5 separate regions of the Homo sapiens genome follow, and regions 2, 3, 4 and 5 are each linked to region 1. Evidence: promoter capture Hi-C in 16 types of primary human blood cells and fetal thymus (Javierre and others, 2016). All regions are on one chromosome and are shown on one strand. Each heading gives the region's core, a stretch centred on a gene start or on the middle of the fragment in contact. The rest is flanking DNA. Distances are from core to core; before and after follow the strand shown. Region 1 holds the start of TAF4 (TATA-box binding protein associated factor 4). Region 2 holds the start of ADRM1 (ADRM1 26S proteasome ubiquitin receptor). Region 3 overlaps OSBPL2 (oxysterol binding protein like 2). Region 4 overlaps OSBPL2 (oxysterol binding protein like 2). Region 5 overlaps MTG2 (mitochondrial ribosome associated GTPase 2).

What was found. The method cuts DNA at HindIII sites, captures the fragments that hold promoters and counts their contacts. A CHiCAGO score of 5 or more calls a contact.
Region 2: a contact is called between the fragment with the promoter of ADRM1 here and the fragment with the promoter of TAF4 in region 1, in 1 of 17 cell types (neutrophils). The highest score is 6.8, in neutrophils.
Region 3: a contact is called between a fragment that was not itself captured here and the fragment with the promoter of TAF4 in region 1, in 1 of 17 cell types (neutrophils). The highest score is 5.2, in neutrophils.
Region 4: a fragment that was not itself captured here is called in contact with the fragment with the promoter of TAF4 in region 1 in 5 of 17 cell types (non-activated CD4 T cells, neutrophils, activated CD4 T cells and 2 more); the score reaches 8.0 in non-activated CD4 T cells.
Region 5: a fragment that was not itself captured here is called in contact with the fragment with the promoter of TAF4 in region 1 in 1 of 17 cell types (neutrophils); the score reaches 5.3 in neutrophils.

The regions. Positions count from the first base shown.
Region 1 is chr20:62,064,396-62,067,265 of GRCh38, reverse strand. It overlaps TAF4 (TATA-box binding protein associated factor 4), which reads left to right and starts at 1,385. Exons shown (of 15, transcript NM_003185.4): 1 at 1,385-2,815. The coding sequence starts at 1,456. MIR3195 (microRNA 3195) reads right to left here and starts at 2,464; the gene lies at 2,381-2,464. LOC105372705 (a long non-coding RNA gene) reads right to left here and starts at 812. Exons shown (of 2, transcript XR_936960.3): 1 at 575-812; 2 at 1-324. RefSeq lists enhancers at 96-609, 1,638-2,152, 2,153-2,666, 2,667-2,870 and silencers at 605-984, 1,245-1,354, 1,615-1,704. The HindIII fragment of the contact is 9,555 bases long and covers 1-2,870 here.
Region 2 is chr20:62,301,594-62,304,463 of GRCh38, reverse strand. It overlaps ADRM1 (ADRM1 26S proteasome ubiquitin receptor), which reads right to left and starts at 1,467. Exons shown (of 10, transcript NM_007002.4): 1 at 1,415-1,467; 2 at 683-896; 3 at 1-3. The coding sequence starts at 895. RefSeq lists silencers at 1,358-1,817, 1,838-1,957. The HindIII fragment of the contact is 19,122 bases long and covers 1-2,870 here.
Region 3 is chr20:62,278,716-62,281,585 of GRCh38, reverse strand. OSBPL2 (oxysterol binding protein like 2) reads right to left here. Exons shown (of 14, transcript NM_144498.4): 7 at 2,247-2,429; 8 at 421-528. Among named protein-coding and RNA genes, the nearest start is that of ADRM1, 23 kb to the left of the region's middle. RefSeq lists an enhancer at 2,153-2,653. The HindIII fragment of the contact is 1,436 bases long and covers 738-2,173 here.
Region 4 is chr20:62,242,102-62,244,971 of GRCh38, reverse strand. All of the region lies in intron 1 of OSBPL2 (oxysterol binding protein like 2), which reads right to left. Among named protein-coding and RNA genes, the nearest start is that of OSBPL2, 5.0 kb to the right of the region's middle. RefSeq lists enhancers at 1-570, 571-1,179. The HindIII fragment of the contact is 4,482 bases long and covers 1-2,870 here.
Region 5 is chr20:62,200,106-62,202,975 of GRCh38, reverse strand. MTG2 (mitochondrial ribosome associated GTPase 2) reads right to left here. Exons shown (of 7, transcript NM_015666.4): 7 at 1-2,293. The coding sequence ends at 1,899. Among named protein-coding and RNA genes, the nearest start is that of MTG2, 19 kb to the right of the region's middle. The HindIII fragment of the contact is 2,804 bases long and covers 1-2,784 here.

The sequences.
Region 1 (2,870 bases), core at 136-2,635:
TCCTCAATGCTCATTGGCTGCTGCTGCTGTCGAGAAACAAGCCTGGGGTGAAGTCCCGTATTCCAGTTATCAGTAAGTCCATTCCTTTGCAAGGCTACAGTTCGAACAGGCACAAGGGTCCAGTTCGGGTCTGCTTTCGAGACTAGCAGTCTCCTTTGTTAAAGCAATTAAAAAAATCATTTTCTTTGTCAGCAACGTCATTCATCGTCCCGAGGTCTCTGCTTATTGCGGCGCTGTCTTCAGCTGCGAAGACTGACCCTGTGGCCTCTTGGCCCCAGTGAGGTCCGAGGCAAGGAAGCGTCTCTCTGAAACCTATTCTGGGCTCTTAGGAAGAAATGAGAGAAAGGAAAACCACTAGAAATGTCCAATAACACCATCTTTTGGTTGGAAAATAAAACACGCAGAAAGAGGGGACTGGAACTTTTACTGAAGTATTTCTAGAGAGAAGGTGCTTGGGAACACTTTAGGTAACTTACTCCCCTCCCCCAGCAGAAGGTAAAAAAAGCTACTTCCAGACGTGCCGGCTTCAGGCTCGGGAACTTCGTTTGGCGCCTGGCAAGCACCGTGCTCTTACCTACGGGCTTATACGACACTCCTGTCTCCAAGGCAGCTGGGTGCGGGGACAGTCAGCCCGGGGCGGCTGGGTTTATTGATTAAAAATGGAGGGAAGGGCCAGGGGTGGTCACGATTGGAGGGCGAGAAGAGCCGTGCGCGCAGGACCCCTCCCCACCGCCCGGGACCGGCTGAGCCAGAGGCGGACCCAGCTTCCCCGCGGCGGCTTGGAGGGGCCGGGCGCCGGTCCCCGTCCCCAGGGCGCGCTGCGACAGTCCCCTCCCCGTTCCCGCCCGCCTCCCAGGCCCATCCACTCCAGGGCCTGCGCGCCGCCCGGCGGCGCCCCGGCATCCCCGCGCGCTGTTCCCCGGGCCTCGGACGGGCCCTGCGCCGCCGCTGCCACCGCGCACGGCGCCCGCCCGGCGCTCCCGTCAGCGCCGCCGCAGCCATTTTGGAGCGAGCCGAGACAAAGAGCGAGGCCCCGTCGCCGCCCCGCGCCCGCCTCGGCCCGGCCCAGCGCACCGTTCCCGCATCCCGCGCCCCGCCCGGCGGCCCCCTCCCCGTCCGCCACCGCCCCGGCGCCCGCGCCCCTGAGCTCCAGCCCCCGCGCTTCCCGCCGCTGCTGCCGCACCCCGGCCGACCGCCCGCGCCCCGGCCTCTAGCGCTCGCAGCCATTGGCCGCGCCTTTTAAGCGCGCGCCGCAGCCAATCGCCGGGCGCCCGCGGTCTCCGCGCCTGCGCAGGGCCGCCACCCCCGCTCCCCCGCCCCCCGGCCGCGCGCCCCCGCCCCCCGCCGGCCGCGCGCCGCCCCCCGCCCGCCCAGCGCCCGCCCCAGTCGGAACCTCCTCCTCGCCCAGGCGCGCTCGGCCCGAGCGGCGGCGGCGGCGGCGGCCGAGGAAAAAAGATGGCGGCGGGCTCGGATCTGCTGGACGAGGTCTTCTTCAACAGCGAGGTGGACGAGAAAGTGGTGAGCGACCTGGTGGGCTCGCTGGAGTCGCAGCTGGCGGCCAGCGCGGCCCACCACCACCACCTCGCGCCGCGCACGCCCGAGGTGCGGGCCGCGGCCGCCGGCGCGCTCGGGAACCATGTTGTGAGCGGCAGCCCGGCCGGAGCCGCGGGCGCAGGGCCGGCCGCCCCCGCCGAGGGCGCGCCCGGAGCGGCGCCGGAGCCGCCCCCCGCAGGTAGAGCGCGGCCGGGGGGCGGGGGGCCGCAGCGCCCGGGCCCCCCCTCACCGCGCCGCCCCCTTGTCCCCGCAGGGCCCGCGCCGCCCGCCGCGAAGCTGAGGCCGCCGCCCGAGGGCAGCGCGGGGTCCTGCGCCCCGGTGCCCGCCGCCGCCGCCGTCGCCGCGGGGCCCGAGCCCGCCCCCGCCGGCCCCGCCAAGCCCGCCGGCCCCGCCGCGCTGGCCGCCCGCGCCGGCCCCGGCCCCGGGCCCGGCCCCGGCCCCGGCCCCGGCCCTGGCCCTGGCAAGCCCGCCGGCCCCGGCGCCGCGCAAACTTTGAATGGGAGCGCCGCGCTGCTGAACTCGCACCACGCCGCCGCACCTGCTGTCAGCCTGGTCAACAACGGGCCCGCCGCGCTGCTGCCGCTGCCCAAGCCCGCCGCCCCCGGCACTGTCATCCAGACGCCCCCCTTCGTGGGCGCCGCCGCGCCCCCCGCGCCCGCCGCGCCCTCGCCCCCCGCCGCCCCCGCGCCCGCCGCCCCCGCCGCCGCCCCGCCCCCGCCACCCCCCGCGCCCGCCACTCTGGCCCGGCCGCCCGGCCACCCCGCCGGACCCCCGACCGCCGCGCCCGCCGTGCCGCCCCCCGCCGCCGCCCAGAACGGGGGCAGCGCCGGGGCAGCCCCCGCCCCCGCCCCGGCCGCCGGGGGCCCCGCGGGGGTCAGCGGCCAACCCGGGCCCGGCGCGGCGGCTGCGGCGCCGGCGCCGGGGGTCAAGGCCGAGTCGCCCAAGAGGGTGGTGCAGGCGGCGCCCCCGGCGGCGCAGACCCTGGCGGCCAGCGGCCCGGCCAGCACGGCGGCCAGCATGGTCATCGGGCCAACTATGCAAGGGGCGCTGCCCAGCCCGGCCGCCGTCCCGCCGCCCGCCCCCGGGACCCCCACCGGGCTGCCCAAAGGCGCGGCCGGCGCAGTGACCCAGAGCCTGTCCCGGACGCCCACGGCCACCACCAGCGGGATTCGGGCCACCCTGACGCCCACCGTGCTGGCCCCCCGCTTGCCGCAGCCGCCTCAGAACCCGACCAACATCCAGAACTTCCAGCTGCCCCCAGGTGAGTGGCCGCACGGGGCGGGAGGGAAGGGCGGCTCCCAGCAGCGCCAGCTGCC
Region 2 (2,870 bases), core at 218-2,717, 240 kb before region 1:
GTCCTGGCAAGCCAGGGGAAGAGAGAGTCAGTGGCGCAGATGGCATCACTGTGCCCAGTCTCAGGAGAGCGTACTGAGCCCTGGGTCTAACCGGGTGGGGTGCGCAAGGGGCAGCTAAGCCGCCAGACCCCTCGCTGGCAGGGTCTCCACAAGGCAGAGAAGCCAGGGTCAGAGACAGCCCATGAAAGGCAAGGCCGGGGGAGAGAGCAGGGAAAGGGGCCTTTCAGATGGCAACGGGGTTTCTGAGACGTGCTGGAAACAACATTCCCAGAGTAGTTAAAAAGTCAACGCTGAACTGCTCTCAAATGTAACAAAGAACAACTAAGAGTTTGAAAAACAAAGAAGACTGAGTGAAGCCGCCAGGCACAGAGCTCCAGGCTCTCCAGGGCCACACCTCCAACCCCAGGCACCTCACACGGACAGTTCAAGGCCAGGCACAGAGCTCCGGGCTCTCCAGGGCCACACCTCCAACCCAGGCACCTCACACGGACAGTTCAAGATACACAGTGGCCGAGATGCCCCTGTCACCGCGGAAACCAGGACGACCCATCAGCAGGGCAGTCGATGACGGCCCCACGAGCGGTCCCCAGATGCGGCCAAGCCCCCACCGCGAACTCCAAAGCGAGGACTCCGAGGGCCCGAGAAGTCGCCTGTCCTGCTGCTGCGGCTCAGGGACACTCACGTCTTCCACGTTCCCGGACGTCCTGTCCTTCCAGCAGAAGTGAATAAGCGAGTCGTCCGTCTGCTGAATGTACACCAGCCCTTTCCGCTTATCCGGAGTCACGGTGGTCCCCTTCAGGGACATCTTTCCCGCCCGAAACTCCACCAAGTACTTGTTGGAGGCGCCCCGAGAGCCTGGCACCAGGCTTGGAAAGAGCGCGCCTGAGGTCGTCATCCTGAAAGCGCGGAGAGGACGCTGAGACGCGGCGGTCACTGTCGCCTGCGGTCCGGCAAGCTCCCGCCCCCTGGGGTGTTTGCGAGCAGGGGGCCTGCGCCCAGAGCTGCCTAAGGCAGACTCAGACACGCCGGGCTGCCTTTCCGCGTTTGCCCCGCTCACGACGATCGCACCGCCCGCACTCGGCGCTGGGCCGGGGCAGCCCCGCCAAGCCTAGTGGGGCCGGCCCTAGGCTTGACGCCGTCTCCGCGGGGCACCAGCCTCGACGCGCCACCCCGGCGACCCGCTCCGCGGGGCAGACCCGCCCGAGCTCCCGCCGAGCCCCACGTTCAGAGCCGCAGGCGGAACCGGGGCGGCGCCCGAGACCCCAGAACCCCCGCCCGGCCCGGCCCCCGCAGGCCCCACCCGCCGCGCCGGCCACCTTCTCGTCTTGGCTGCCCCCGCCCCATCCTTGGTCCAGCAGCCCCTGCCCCCGCCTCCGGTCGCCCCCGGCCGCCCCAGGCCCGGCGACTCCCGCACCTGCCTCGCGCCCACACTCGTTCGAGAGGCGCCGTCCGGGCTCGCTCTTCCTCCTCGGCGCCTGCCGGGCCCCGCCGGAAACCCGCGTTCGGCCCGCCCCGCCTGCCGCTCTCGCCGCCGATTGAGCCCCGTAAGCCGCGCAGCCGGCTCTAACCTGCCAACGATTGGCGAGGGCGACCGTCCATCGCACTCGCTCCTCCCCGGTCCGCCCCCGCGCCGGCGGCTCTTTTCCGGCGGAAGCGCGGGCCGCAGGGCGCTTGGACCAGAGCGGCCCCTATTGTTGCTGTGTCATAGGGGAGCGGCGGCGGCCCCTAGAGGCGGCGCCAGGGACCACAGGCGGGTTTCAGAGGGGCGCTGGGGAACTGCTCAGGTGGGGCCGAGCCCACCCCTCGGCGTCGCCCGCCCGGGCGGGCAGAGCTGTCACTCGTGTGGCTGAGCCAGGGGTTAGGCGGAGGCCGAGGAGTGCGGTCCGGCTGTGGGCGGCGGGCACCAGGGCTACGCATAGAAGTGACCATGGGTTCAGCGCTTTGGGGACCCAGGCGGGAGCTGGAGTCCACGCGTCCGGGAGAGCAGGGGTCCGGGAGGGTAGAGCGAGGGTGAGAACCGTGATATGGTCTCAGCTGTATACATCTAGTCCCGCAGGGGTCCGGGAGGGCAGGGGTCAGGAAGGGGTGGGTCCGGGAGGAGAGGGGTCCCGAGAGGGGAGGGGCTCCTGGAGGGGAGGGATCTGGGAGGGGTGAGTCCGGGAGGGGAGGGGTTCCCGGAGGGGAGGGGGCCCGGGAGGGGAGAGGGTCCCGGAGGGGAGGGATCTGGGAGGGGTGAGTCCGGGAGGGAGGAGTCAGGGAAGGCCTGAGTCCCAGACGGGTAGGGTCCTGGAAGGGAGGGGTCCTGGAGGGCAGGGGCTCACCCTCTGGACGCCTGGATGGGAAAGGCCACAGGGTAAAAAGGCGGCAGTCGCCCGCCAGTGTTGTGTAACTTTGAGTCACTTTGACACAAACTAAAGCGAAGACAACAGATAGTGTTTGTGGCGCCCCAGCCGGCTGCTGAAGGGACACGTTCTTTGGGATTTGCCTACAGCGACGCCAGGCGGGGGCTCTTAGAGGGCTCAGGCGCGGTGGCTCACGCCTGTAAACCCAGAACTTTGGGAGGCCGAGGCGGGCGGATTACTTGAGGCCAGGAGTTCAAGACCAGCCTGGGCAACATGGTGAATGAAACCCCGACTCTACTAAAAATGCAAAAATTAGCCAGGTATGCTGGCACATGCCTGTAATTCCATCTACTCAGGAGGCTGATGCACGAGAATCGCCTGAACCCGGGAGGTGGAGGTTGCAGTGAGCCGAGATTGCACCACTGCACTCCAGCCTGGGCGACAGAGGAAGACTCCTTCTCAAAAAAAAAAAATAATAATAATAATAGTAATAAAATAGAGAGGTCAGGCGCTTCGTGAGAACCCTGA
Region 3 (2,870 bases), core at 206-2,705, 210 kb before region 1:
CTTAAGTGTCCATTCAGAATGGGCGAGTCTTATGATGCATCGATTATACCTCACTAAAGTGGTGAAAAGGCAAAGCCCACCAGTCATGAGCTTCCAGGAATAGGGCATTCAAGCCTAGACAGTGGCCAACGGCCGTGGACGGCCACTGCGCTGCACCTGGCAATGACACAGCTCTTCAGCATAGCTCAAAGCCTTAAAGTAACAACCGTGACGAAAAACGAGGTCTTGAACGAGGAGCATTCATGGCCAACACCGGTCAGAGTCAAGTCTAGGCAGCTGCTATGCCTGGGCTGGCGGGGACACGGCAGCAGCTCGTGAGGCTGAGCTAAAACCCACCAGGAGCACGGATGCTCACGCTCCCCGGCTCGCCCATCCCCACCCGGAGCCTCGCGCTCTCACCCAACGGTGGGGTGCTGTCACCTGTGGTTTAAAATCTCCACTGTCCCATACTGCTCTATCCACAGCTTCCCGATGATGACGTTGTGGACGCAGCAGGTGGGGTTGGTCCAGGTGTAGGCTTCATTATGTCTGTGAAGACACCAGAAAACAAGCAGTGAGAGTCCAGAAAAGCCAAGACACGACGTGACCCAAGACGCAACGACCAGGCGGGGCTGGGTCACAGCAACCGGCACCCGCGGGAGAGCAGCACGCTGCTTTGAAGCCCCTGCGACGGAGGCTGTGTATTTAGCATGCGTTTGAAATGTACTTCTTCTTTCCTTTGTAGCATCTACAAAGCTTTCTACTTAAATGTCAAGACAAGTTAATAAGCAATCAAAGAAGACTGAACAAAGACAAATGGCTTTCCTGTGAAGTCGTCAAAAGAAAGGCCACCTCACGAAACACACACGGCAGTAATGCAGGGTCCTGGGCATGCGGCCCTGGCTTTCTGGGGAGCTGGCACATGGCTGTGGAGGGGTGCAGGGTTTTCAACCGCACTCCACATACTTGTTTCCTTTACTCCTCATCCTCCCAAATGGCCCTGCCCAAGAAGAAAACACCCCACCAATGTGAGGCAGCAGATCAGCAGCCCTATGTTCTAAGGTGCTACGTGGGGGAGCCACAGTGAAGGCAGAAATCTGCTCAGAGCAGGGTATTTTGCCACACGTCTGGAATTCTCTCAATTTCCTGGGGGTGGAACCCAAACTGGTTCATCAGCAAGGTTATCAGCAAGGTGTGCAACTTTATCAGCAAGGTGTGCAACTTCTCATTTCTGCATGCCTCTTAATTAAGCAAGGCCACTGCACAACAGGCACTCGGCCATACCAGCCCCAGGACACACTCTCAGGGGCTTCTCCAGGTCCTTGTGGAACCTTCTAGCCACCATCCAGGCAGGGCCAATGTGAAGCAAAACCCAAATCAAATGCTTCATCAGGCAAGGTGTCGTTTATTACTTATTTCTGTATGTATTTGTTAGGACCTGCTGCCTACAACAAGACTGCAGGCAGTGGCTTGGCAAGACTCACGTCTCAGAACTGGTGGCCCAGGAGGACGCCAGCATCCGGTCTGTGTCTGTCGGGTCTTAGCGGCCGGCATTTGTTGGAGACTTGTGTTTTGCTCTGAGGTGTCTTTGGTTGACACTGGATTGGGGAGCATTTAGGCTGAGAGTGAAGAGGGGTGGCAAGCAGCCTCTCAGAGGGTCCCCTCCCACGCTGTTTCAAATTCCAACCCTAAGTCACCCCTGCCACATGAGCACAGGGTGGGGGAGTGTGCAAAGGGCCACTTCCCTGGCTTCCTTCTCAGCTCTCTCCCCCTGTGGGAGGCAGTGCCCTGCAGCAAGCAGCCCAGAAGGGGAGCCAGGACACAGGCGCCATGGGCAACCCAACCCTCATTGCCACCGCAACCTCACGGTCCCCGGCCCTCAGACACCTGCCAGCCTGGTGTGGAAGCTGCTAAGTTTGGGACAGTTATGCAGCAAAAGACAAGAAATACAATGAATGATGCCGGAAAGCGGGGTGAGTTCCAACTGCAGACGTGAGGATGCACCCCAGCAACATGGGACCCTGGTCATACAATGAATGATGTGACCGAAAGGGGGGCGAATTCCAACTGCAGACGTGAGGACGCACCCCAGCAACACGGGACCCTGGTCAGGAAGCTCATCTGAAGACGTTTCTGCTGTGGGGAGGTCCCCACCTCAGGAGAAAAATGACAGGGTTTCCTCCTGAAGGAAGCTTTCCCTCCACATCACCAGCACCCATTTCAGTTTCTGCAGGAAGCGGATCTCAGCAGGACGCACCGACACTCACTTGAGCAGCTCCAGGGTGATGGTGCCTCGGGGCTCCGCCTCCACGCTTTTGCCCCAGAACTTGAGCTTGGGGTAGATGGAGCCATGGAACAGGAAGTCATGGTTGAGACCTTCCGAGTGGAACGCACTGATGGGGGGGTGGTGACTGACCTGTTCCGATATAAATCTGAATCCTAAATCTTCCCTAGGTCAAAGAATAAAAAAGAGAGACACATTAATGGCAGCAAAATAAAAGAAAGGGCAGCTCAGACATCATGTGGAGCCCCTCACAGGACGCTGGGAAGCAGGGGCCCTCCATGCCACAACATGTGGCGGAAACACCCAACACCACCTCTCCGACATTGCACTTGGCCTAACGTTGGCAACAGACACACACACAAACATGACATCGCACTTGGCCTAACGTTGGCAACAGACACACACACACAAACATGACATTGCACTTGGCCTAACGTTGGCAACAAACACACACACAAACATGACATCGCACTCGGCCTAACGGCAACAGACACACACACAAACACGATATCGCACTCGGCCTAACGTTGGCAACACACACACAAACATGACATCGCACTCGGCCTAACGTTGGCAACACACACACAAACATGACATCGCACTTGGC
Region 4 (2,870 bases), core at 97-2,596, 180 kb before region 1:
TCAGTCCAGAATTCACGCAGGAAGTTTCTACACTGAGAAAGGCAGGTGAACCTCTCCCACTGTGCAGACAGCAGCACCCCCACTGTTTACCATTCTCCATGCCAAGAGGGTGACCTTGAGAGGCAGGCAAAGGTGAGCCCGGCTTGGTCCCAAGAAGCAGCTGTGGGGAGTGGCAAACCTTCCCACTGGGCCTCGCGGCCAGTGTGGCCCGACGTCCCGGAAGCGGAGCCTAGCGCCCCACTCACCACAGTCAACTCCCTCAAGTCTTGTCGCTGACTTAACTGCTTCCTGTGGAATATTAATTGCCAAAAATACACCACGCACCTCGAGGAACATTACCTTGTAATGCAGTACGATGTATTTCCAAACACACAAGATGAATGCAAGCGCTTCCGTACAAAAACATGTGTTTTAATCAACCTTCTCCTTATGCAACACAATAAAAAGCTGTTCCAATGCGGCCCACGAGACTGGGTGGGAAGGCAATGGACAGGGCGCATGCCCCACAGCTCACGGGCGCCCTGCTCTCAGAAAGCCATGCCGGAGGGCAGGGAGAGCACTCCAAGGGCAGCAGCAGTCCAGCCAGCCCCCGACCCGCCGCCGCTGTGTATCTCTGATGATCAAAACCAACGGCCCCGAGAGGAGCCCAGCCTGCGGCTGCAGCTAGAGGAGAAGGAGACACCTTGTACCCACATCTCACAACCCAGCAAGGGCCACAGCAGGCGGAGGACGCGGTGAGGGAGTGGGAGGAAAATTAAGACAGCAAAGGGAAGTGAGTGACCCAGGTGAGAGGCTGTTGTCCTGCAGGGCTCCCGGCCTTCCCCAGGGCACCTGCCCAGCCAAGGAGTGGCTGGCTTGCTGGAGTGCGTCCTTGCCCTCTGGCCGCCTCCTTCTCTGTGGCCTCAGCTCCAGGCCCTCCTCACCATCGTGCCCATCTTCATCCTGTGCAGCCCTAATGGGGTCCACTGTGCTGAGAAACCTGTCACCCTAACATCAGACCTGCCCACGTGGCTGCCAACTGTGCTTCCTGAGCACCTACAGGCAGGGCTTCAAACCAAGGTCAGGGAAAACCACCAATCTCTAACCCCCCTACCCTCTGCAAAAAAAATTTTTTTTTAATTAAAAAATTTAAAAAAACAGGAAAAAAAATTTTTCGTTCATTTTTTTCCCCAGAATAATGACCCACATTATTCATATTCATGAAGTTCTCAAAGGGGTCCTTGATCTAAAAAAGGGTCCTGACCCCACCGTGGGCCTCCAGCACTTGGACTCCCCGCTGAGGACCCACCCCAGACCCTCCCGAGCTTGTTAAACACATCTCTTCCTGGGCCCCTCCCGGGAAACCCAGGCTCAGTGAAGCTGGGGCTGGGCCTTGAACCCACACTTTTTAAAAAGTTCCCCCAGCTTTTCTGATGAGAAGCAGGGGTGAAAACTCCATGATGTTAACCCAGGAGCCTTCTACCCTGACAGCCGAGCCACTGAAGAGGCGGAGCTGCCGGGCAGGCGCTGCGGGGCAGGCGCTGCGGGGCAGGGGCTGCGGGGCAGGCGCTAGGGCTCCTCGGGCACCTCTGCACTGGGACCCCTCCCCTGGCCCCAGCTCAGGCACTGCCCTGGCTCTGCTTCCGCTCAGGTGTTCCAGCATTTCCCACAGGTGAGACTTACTTGGAAGACGGGTGATGATTACAGCGAGACTCCCAGCTCTGCTACATCATCAAGAGAGGCCAAGCCAGAGCCAGGGCACTCGCAGGAGCTCGCCACCACAGACGCAGCCCGTGTCCTCTTTCACAGTAAGAGGGTAGCCCCACGCCCTGTGCGCACCTGACACCTGCCGTCATTATCGGAGTCACCGAAATGTCACTGAATCACAGTCCCCCTAGTTTTAAGGCAATAATGGAAGTTGCTCTCTGGCCGAGCACAGTGGCACAAGGTCCCAGGTTACAGGGGGCTCTTTCTCACGATCAGCCTTGGATCAGCCTTAGGTTTATTCAGTACAAAGCACAGGCACTCACTTCCACACCATAGTCCTCCTTCCTCTACAGCTGCCTCCGTCTTTTCTGGAACCAAAACTCCACACAACTCCCTACACACTACAGTCCTCCCTGCCTGGTGCTCCTCCAAGAACTCCCCGTATGAGCCCACAACAGGCGCTCTCTGGGCACCCCTGAAGGTTGCAGTCCCAGCGCCTTTGATAAAGAAATGTGCTCAGTGTCTGCTCAGCCAAGAGCCCCTCAGACCCTTCCCACCCCTGACTTGCCTCAGCGTCGGGGCCACAGCCCCCAGGCCCTCAGTGCGCAGGTGAGAAGTACACACCTTACACCCAGGAGAGAGGCCTGATGACCGCCACAAGCCCTGAGGGTGCGGGAACCTCTTCAGGCCCCAAACTATGGAGCCAGCCACTAGCTCAACAGGACTGATCCCAGAGTTTGTTTCTCAAAATACATCAAGCGAGTGTTCCACTGAAAACAGAAGGCAAGCAAAGAGAAACAGCCACAAACATCAGGCACGAGTCTCAGATCCAGTCCCTTATAAAAGCTCACTTCCACCACTCAGCTCAACTCAGAGGTCACAGGATTTGCATCAGCAGAAGCTCCAGCGGAAAGAATGTGGATGCTGTGACATTCTGCTGAATGATCCCAAGTTCTTTTCTGAATCTGGAAGGAAAAGGAAAGAAGTGCCAAAAAGTTCACGCAAACAGTGCTGTGAGCTATTTAACAGATGCTTTTATTATCAAGAGCTGCAGAGGTGGGCCGGGACACCACCACGCTTCCACAGTGGGACCCTAGCCCAAACCAGCAGCCTGAGAGGCCGGGACACCATGCCTGAAACTCACTAGCAAGAACACTCTGAAAAAGCAAAAATGACAGCAGATT
Region 5 (2,870 bases), core at 133-2,632, 140 kb before region 1:
GTTCTAGCTGCAGATTTGATGTGAGATCAAAACGGAATTGCTCCTGAAAGCCCAGGCACCGGCCTGCTGTGCAAAGCGCGCCCCACCCCAGCGTGCAGAGACGCGGCCCCGGACCCTTGCGGCTCATCTCACCTGAGGCTGCCGTCTCTCCTCCAAGGGCTGGGGGTCCCCTTCTGATCATCCTTCTCTGCTTCTTTGTCCCCTCCACTTTTTTTTTTTTTTTGAGATGGAGTCTTGCTCTGTCGCTCAGGCTGGAGTGCAGTGGTGTGATCTCGGCTCACTGCAAGCTCCGCCTCCCAGGTTCACGCCATTCTCCTGCTTCAGCCTCCCGAGTAGCTGGGACTACAGGTGACCGCCACCACGCCTGGCTAATTTTTTTGTATTTTTAGTAGAGACGGGGTTTCACTGTGTTAGCCAGGATGGTCTCAATCTCCTGACCTTGTGATCCACCAGCCTCGGCCTCCCAAAGTGCTGGGACTACAGGCATGAGCCACCGTGCCCAGAATGTTCTGTTTTTGTTTGTTTGTTTGTTTGTTTTTTGAGACAGGGTCTCGCTCTGTCACTCAGGCTGGAGTGCAGTGGTGCAATCACGGCTCACTGCAGCCTTGACCTCCCAGGCTCACATGATCCTCCCACGACAGCCTCTGGAGTGTCCCCTCCACTTTCTTTCTTAGGGGCCCCTCAGGGACATGTCAGAGGCCTGAGACTACTTGGGGGATGTCTATGGGCCAGGCAGGCTGCCAGCAGCTGAGCTGTCCTTGCCCTGGGGCTCCTCTGCAGTCAGGGAGACACCAGGCATGGGCCTGGCTTGGATGCATCAGTACTTGACTGCAAAGACTTAAACCACAGACAGGAAAGGCGCTGCTGCAGTCTCGACGGTCAAATGCAGGGCCCCCTCAGCTGCCATCCCACTGAGGGGCGAAGGCCCATCATCTCCCTTCGGCTCGGTAACTGCCTGGCGTAGCACAAGGGTTCTCTTTAAATCCCCAGCAAATGGAGCTGAGTGGAAATTCCGCCCCATATTACCAGGCACACGTCTCCTTCCACTCCTCACTATACCCTGCCCATGCCACGGCCGCCTTCTGAGAATAACGCTGACAGTTCCATGGCCCACAGCCCCTCTAGTTAACTTGCTGTGCACACGGCAGCCCAGCCAGAAACACGCAGCCAGGTCGGATATTGGGTGCATTCAGTCGTGAAGCCTGAGGCTTCCTGGCTCCCACTGAGCACAGAGAAGTGTTCTGAAGGACAGGAAGCAGCTGGCCTCACTGCTCTTCTCAGACGGCTGATGGAGAAAAGCTCACAGCTGCCTGCGCCGCTCTGCCTGGACTTGCATCCTCGGCCCCACCCCTTGCGCAGCAGTGAGGCCCCCCGAGACACTGGTGCCTGGGCTTGCGGTACCGCAGGGCTGCTGGACAACGGGCCAGACGCAGCCCCAGTGTGGATCCAGAGGTCTCTCTCCGTAGCAAGCCATGGAAGCACGACGGGCACTGTGCTGAGAACCCTGGTCTGCACTTCTGACCTGGGGCTCTGGCTGTGCGGTTCTGCTGAGCTCATCCGAGAGTCCACGCGTGCATGGCGGAGACCTGAGTCAGCGGCAGGGCCACCCCGTTATGGGCACCCCAACCCCTTATTAGGGGTGTTAATCAGCACAAATGAGCAACTGGCTCATCAGTCGGTGCAGGCTGACAGGTGCAGGAAATACGGAGGGCAGGCGGGGTAGGGGGCACGGAATGCTTCCCAACATGAGGGCATCTCAGGCCAGCAGGCGGGGCCCAGAGACCCAGAAGCACCACAACTCCCCCGTGTCCACAAGGCACTTTATGCATTCAAAACCACCGAATTCACACCCAGGTTTGCTCAGACAGAGGCCCAGAGGCGACCCCGCTCTGGCGTGGCTACCACCTGAGCGGCTGGCGGCCCTGGCCCAGCTCGGCCTCCGCGTAGGCGTCATACAGCACCTTCAGGTGCAACAGCAGCTGCTCCAGGTTCTCGCCGGTCAACGCCGACAGCACGATGACCTCCTGTCCCAAGTGATCCCGGAGCTGGGACAGATTGGCTTGGGCTTCAGGGAGGTCAATCTTGTTTGCGACGATTGCGTGGGGCCTCGCAGACAGGCCCTTTTCATACATCTCCAGTTCATATTTTAAATCGTCAACTTGAGTCCACGGCTCAGGCTGAGAAAGATCCACCACGAACAAGAGAAAGCGGCAGCGCTCGATGTGCCTGAGGAAGGCGGACCCCAGACCCCTGTTCTGGTGGGCGCCTCGTATGATGCCGGGGATGTCGGCCACTGCAGGGAAGACAGGGGCACACGAGGTGACCACTTGGCACACCCAGCACCCAAGAGCGCCTTCCACCTCGAGCCTGGGAGAGAAGGCCTGGAGCCCACTGCGAAGGCGGATTTCCTGAGTTCTAACACTTTCCTTTCAAGGAACGCCTTGAACTGAAGCCATTTGATTTAGCACCTGGGTGATTCACTGGGCCAACTGACACCTGAGGAATTCAATGCTTGGAGATGTTTGGGAGACCAGCGTGGCGATGGATCTATCTAGTAGAGTACATTTCATACCTTCTCTTTCTGCTTCTAATAGGATTCAAAAAAGAGGAAAATGGCTGCCTGTACTCTACTAATCATTTGATTACTGATAGAAATTTACATGTAGAGTACTCTGCAGATATAAAGTGCCATCCAAATAACCTTACCAGCAGGCTTACTATTTTTAATGGGTGTATTGTCTTCTGGGAAAAAGTTTTATTCTCTCAAACGGCACAAGGAAAGCTTTTAAGTCACGTGTTGTGATGCTGCTGAGCTTCCACAGATGAGAGGGGACAAATAGAGTGGGAAGAAATACTGTCCTCGGCTGGAA